Regions from separate parts of the Homo sapiens genome. Here region 1 is linked to region 2. Evidence: promoter capture Hi-C in 16 types of primary human blood cells and fetal thymus (Javierre and others, 2016). All regions are on one chromosome and are shown on one strand. The core of a region is centred on a gene start or on the middle of the fragment in contact, and the rest is flanking DNA. Distances in the headings are between cores, read along the strand shown.

Region 1 (2,700 bases), core at 7-2,506, 300 kb after region 2:
GTCTTACTCTGTAGCCCAGGCTGGAGTGCAGTGGTGCAATCATAGGTCACTGCAGCCTCGAACTCCTGGGCTCAAGCGATTCTCCTGCGTCAGCCTCCTGAATAGCTGGGACTACAGGCACACACCACCGCACCTGGCTAATTTTTGTATTTTTTTTCTAGAGACGGGGTTTTGCCATGTTGGCAAGGCTGGTGTCGAACTCCTGAGCTCAAGTGACCCGCTTACCTTGGCCTCCCAAATTGCTAGGATTACTGCGTGAGCCACTGCACCCGGACCCATTTTCCATTTGAGAAAACTGAGGCAGGGAGTGAGAAGTCACCAGTCAAAGGTTTCTTCAGAGCTCTGCCCCATTCCCTACCAAGAAAGCATCCACTTCCTCCTGGGCCATCTGGTCCTGGACTCCACCCACGCCGGTCTGAGGGCAGGGGTTTGACTGGGGCCTGGAGCCAGGCTGAGTTCAAGCTTAAGGGCAGCAGCCGGCACAGAAAGGCTTGCTGTTAGATGTGGCCTCTGGCAACGCCCCAGTGGGGGCTCTGGGCTCCGTCCTTTGGAGGTGTACGTGCCCCAGAGGGAGTTAGAGCCCCAGTTAGTGAGGCCGGAGCTGCCCTAGTAGGGTCCAGCAGGCAGAAGCGGTGCCCAGCCCACCCCAAAGGAGCCAGCAGGAGGAACTCGGTCCCGCTTGTGTTGTGGGGAGGGCTGTGTCTGGCCCCATGGGAGGACAGCAGGCAGGGGGCACGCGTGGACCCGTCCCGATGGGGGCAGCGGGCAGGGGCATGCGTAGAACCGTCCCGATGGGGGTAGCGAGCAGGAAGCACGCGCGGACCCGCCCAGAAGAGGACAGCGGGCAGGGGCTCGCGTGGACCCACCCCTATGGGGACAGCAAGCAGGGGCTCGCGTGACCCGCCTGATGGGGACAGCGGGCTCGACTCACCATAGCGCCGTGCGCTCCCGCGGGTGCCGCAGCCGCTCGAGTGCGCCCAGCGTGGTGGGCAACGCGTGGGCCGCGTTTCGCGCCAACAGCGCGATGAGCACGCGCGGCGCCTGCAGGGGCGACTCCGGGCTCCAGCGCTCCTCGGGGAAGTAGGCGTCGGCGCCCGGCGGGGCCCCCGGCGGCAGTGGCGCCAGCAGCAGAAGCAGCAGCGCCAGGAGCGGCTGCCCGCGCCGCCGGCCCGCGCGTGGGGCCGCCGCCATCGCGCCACGCGTCTCCTTTAAGTCGTTTTTCTGCGGGAGGACTCTGGCCGCGCCTTAAAGGGGTCATAGGGGCCCCGCCCGGCCGCGCGCCTTAAAGGGGAGGAGCGCGCCGGGCGTGAAGTCCAGGCCCCGCCTCCAGACGCTCTCCGAGTCCCAAGGCCCGGAGTGACGTCACCTGCAGCCCTACCCAGGACGCCCCGCCCCCGCACCGATCTTAAAGGCACATAGCGCTCGGAGCGCGTGGAAGGGATGTTAGGGGTAGCGTTAGGGTTAGGAACCCGCGCTTCCTCCAGGCGCCTCCTACCACTGAGACCTCCGCCAGATGCGCCGCCCAATTTCCCCATGTATAAAACCCGGGCTGTGCCACCAGGCGGACTTGGCTACTTAGGACCTGGTTTGGGACCCAAGAGACCTTAGCCTCAGTTTCCTCTGCTGCAACGTGGGTTTTGCCATCCTGGTTTTGGATCTCACAGGGATGTCATTGAGGGTTGTGGAGAATAAAGGTCATGACGTCCACAGACCTGGCGTCACATTCAGTCCCCGCCTTGGGCTTGCTATATGTGAGCCTCAGTCTGTCCATCTATAAAATGAGATCATAGAGACCCTATAGGGTTGGCGTGAAAATAGAGCCAGGGCATGATAATGGACCGTTCTGGGCACAAGCTCTTCCAGAGACAAGGGCCATGTTTTCATGGAAACGCTGTCAAGGGATTGTTTTCCAATACTCTAGAGCCGCATTTTCAAATTGATTGACTTAGTATCACACTTTTTTTTTTTTTTTTTTGAGACGGAGTCTGGCTTTGTTGCCCGGGCTGGAGTGCAGTGGTGCAACATAGCAAGACCGTGCCTCTATTTTTAAAAACAATAAAAACTTTAAAAAATACATCTGAACATTATTATTATTATTATTATTATTTTCTTTTTTTTTTTTTTTGAGACAGCGTCTCACTCCATTGCCCCGGCTAGAGTACAGTGGCGCGATCTCGGCTCACTGCAACCTCCGCCTCCCGGGTTCAAGCGATTCTCCTGCTTCAGCCTCCTGAGTAGCTGGGACTACAGGCACGCGCCACCACGCCCGGCTAATTTTTGTTTATAGTAGAGATGGGGTTTCACCATATTGGCCAGGCTGGTCTCGAACTCCTGACCTCCTGATCCGCCCACCTCAGCCTCCCAAAGTGCTGGGATTACAGGCGTGAGCCACCGCGCCCAGCTTATTATTATTTTCACAGAGAGGGTCTTACTCTGTGGCTCAGGCTAGAGTGCAGTGGCATGATCACATGATCATGGCTCACTGCAGCCTCAACCTCCTGGGCTCAACTGATCCTCCTGCCTCAGCCTCCCAAGTAGCTGGGACTACAAGTGCACTCAACCACGCCCAGCTAATTTTTAAATTTTTTGTAGAGATGGAGTCTCGCTATGTTGCCCCGGCTGTTCTCAAACTCCTGGTCTCAAGTAATCCTCCCCCTTCAGCCTCCCAAACTGCTGGGATTACCAGTGAGCCATCATGCC
Region 2 (2,700 bases), core at 23-2,522:
ACCTCCACCTCCCGAGTTCAAGCGATTCTCCTTCCTCAGCCTCCAGAGTAGCTGAGATTACAGGCGTGCGCCACCACACCCAGCTAATTTTTGTATTTTTAGCAGAGACGGGGTTTTACCATGTTGGCCAGGCTGGTCTTGAACTCCTGACCTGAGGTGATCCACCCACCTTGGCCTCCCGAAGTGCTAAGATTACAGGCATGAGCCACTGCACCCGGCCTTTTTTTTTTTTTTTTTTTTTTTTGAGACAGAGTTTTGCTCTTGTTGCCTAGGCTGGAGTGCAATGGTGTGATCTCGGCTTACCGCAGCCTCCACCTCCTGGGTTCAAGCGATTCTCCCACCTCAGCCTCCCAAGTAGCTGGAATTACAGGCATGCACCACCACATCCAGCTAATTTTGTTTTGTCAGTGGAGATGGGGTTTCTCCACGTTGATCAGGCTGGCCTCAAACTCCTGACCTGGGACTACAGGTGTGCACCACCATGCCCAGCTAATTTTTGTGTTTTTTTTGGTAGAGGTGGTGTTTCGCCACATTGCCCAGGCTGGTCTCAAACACAAGTTGTTTGTCAGAGACCAGCCTGCAATTCTCCCAGGGTGCTGGGATTACAGGCGTGAGCTACCATGCCCAGCCTAGGGGCCTCTTTTATAAGGGCATTAATCCCATTCATGAGAGCTCAACCCTCATGATCTAATCACCTCTTAAAAGGTTCCGATTCTGAATACCACCGCCTTCGAGGTTAGGATTTCAATGTATTAATTTTGGGGAGACGCAAACTCTCAGACCATCACAGTATTTTATCTTTTTCAGTGCTGCTGCAAAGGAAATTTTTCAAAATTTTTTTATGTTCCAATTGTTTGCTGCTGGTGTATAAAAATTCAATTGACTTTTGTATTGAATTCAACGGACTTTTTAAACCTGGTAACTTGCTGAATTTATGTATTAATTTCAGTAGTTGTCTTATAGATTCCCTTGGGTTTTTGACATAAACAATCATATCATCAGCAAATAGCAACAGTTTTATTTACCTTTTTTTTATTACTTATTTTATTCTGTTTTGCTTGTTACAGAATCTTGCTATGTTGCCTTTAAATTCTTGGGCTCCCATTTCAGCTTCTCCAGTAGCTGAGGCTACAAGCATGTATCACCATGCCCAGCCACACCTGACTTGTTTATTTTTCTCATATATTTTTTTGTTTTAAGACAGGATCTCGCTCTGTTGCCCAGACTGGAGTGTAATGGTGTGATGATGGCTTACTGCAGCCTTGTCCTCCCTGACTCAAGCAATCCTCAGCCTCCCAAATAGCTGGGACAACAGGTGTGAGCTATCACACCCTGCCAATTTTTAATTTTTTTTTTTTTTTTGAGACAGAGTCTCCCTCTGTCACCTAGGCTGGAGTGCAGTGGCGCGATCTTGGCTCACTGCAACCTTCACCTCCCGGGTTCAAGCGATTCTCCTGCCTCAGCCTCCTGAGTAGCTGGGATTACAGGCGCGCATCACCACGCACGGCTAATTTTTGTATTTTTACCATGCCTGGCTAATTTTTGTATTTTTAGTAGAGATGGGGTTTCACCATGTTGATCAGGCTGGTCTTGAACTCCTGACCTTGTGATTCTCCCACCTCAGCCTCCCAAAGTGCTGGGATTACAGGCGTGAGCCACCATGCCCAGCTTTTCTTTTCTTTCTTTCTTTTTTTTTTTTTTTAGACGGAGTCTCACTCTGTCACCCAGGCTGGAGTGCAGTGGCCCGATCTTGGCTCACTGCAAGCTCCGCCTCCCTGGTTCACACCATTCTCCTGCCTCAGCCTGCTTTTTCTTTTCTTATTACAGTGGCTAACATCACCAGAACAATGTTGAATAGAGGTGGTGAAAATGGACATCCTTGTCTTGTTTCCAATCTCAGGAGGAAGTTATTCAGTCTTTTACCATTTTTGTTTTTGTTTTTGAGATGTAGTCTCGCTCTGTCGCCCAGGCTGGAGTACAGTGGCACTATCTTGGCTCCCTGCAACCTCTGCCTCCTGGACTCAAGCCATCCTCCCACTTCAGTCTTCCAAGTAGCTGAGACTACAGGTGCACACCACCATGCCTGGCTAATTTTTGTATGTTTTGTAGAGACGGATCTCACCATGTTGCCCAGGCTAATCTCCAACTCCTGAGCTCAAATGATCCTCCCATGTTGACTTCCCAAAGTGCTCAGATTACAGGCATGAGCCACCGTGCCTGGCCCTGCCTCACTGTACTCTTAATTTTCATTTGGCAAGTGAAGCTGAGGAAATTTTTCTGGGTTTAAGAGCTATTTGTCCTCCATTTTCTCTGACTTCTGGATTCATATCCACCTAACTGGTTGGCATTTTCTTACTGCTTTCTAGATGTTACTTATATAACGAGGATATTTTATCCATGAGTTCAATTTTGTTTCCAGTTACACTTTGATTGTATTTTATTCTTTGATTGTATTTATGGACTTCTTGTCAGCAGAAAAATCTGGGTGTTTGCATCACTGACGTGCCCCATTTTTCTCGGGCAAGTTCTGGGTTCTGTCCCCAGAACTTCCTTTTTTTAAAAAAAATTATTTATTTATTTATTTATTTTTTGATACGGAGTCTTGCTGTGTCGCCCAGGCTGGAGTGCAGTTGTGCGATCTCGGCTCACTGCAACCTCCGCCTCCCAGGTTCAAGTGATTCTCTTGCCTCAGCCTCCTGA

What was found. Contacts are between HindIII fragments. The CHiCAGO score rates a contact against its expected background, and 5 or more counts as called.
Region 1: the fragment with the promoter of COLGALT1 here is called in contact with a fragment that was not itself captured in region 2 in 5 of 17 cell types (M0 macrophages, M2 macrophages, endothelial precursors and 2 more); the score reaches 8.9 in M0 macrophages.

The regions. Positions count from the first base shown.
Region 1 is chr19:17,554,205-17,556,904 of GRCh38, reverse strand. It overlaps COLGALT1 (collagen beta(1-O)galactosyltransferase 1), which reads right to left and starts at 1,256. Exons shown (of 12, transcript NM_024656.4): 1 at 932-1,256. The coding sequence starts at 1,191. It also overlaps a transcript of NIBAN3 not described here. RefSeq lists a silencer at 1,089-1,178. The HindIII fragment of the contact is 3,085 bases long and covers 465-2,700 here.
Region 2 is chr19:17,851,081-17,853,780 of GRCh38, reverse strand. No RefSeq gene overlaps it. Among named protein-coding and RNA genes, the nearest start is that of JAK3, 4.4 kb to the right of the region's middle. The HindIII fragment of the contact is 3,709 bases long and covers 1-2,700 here.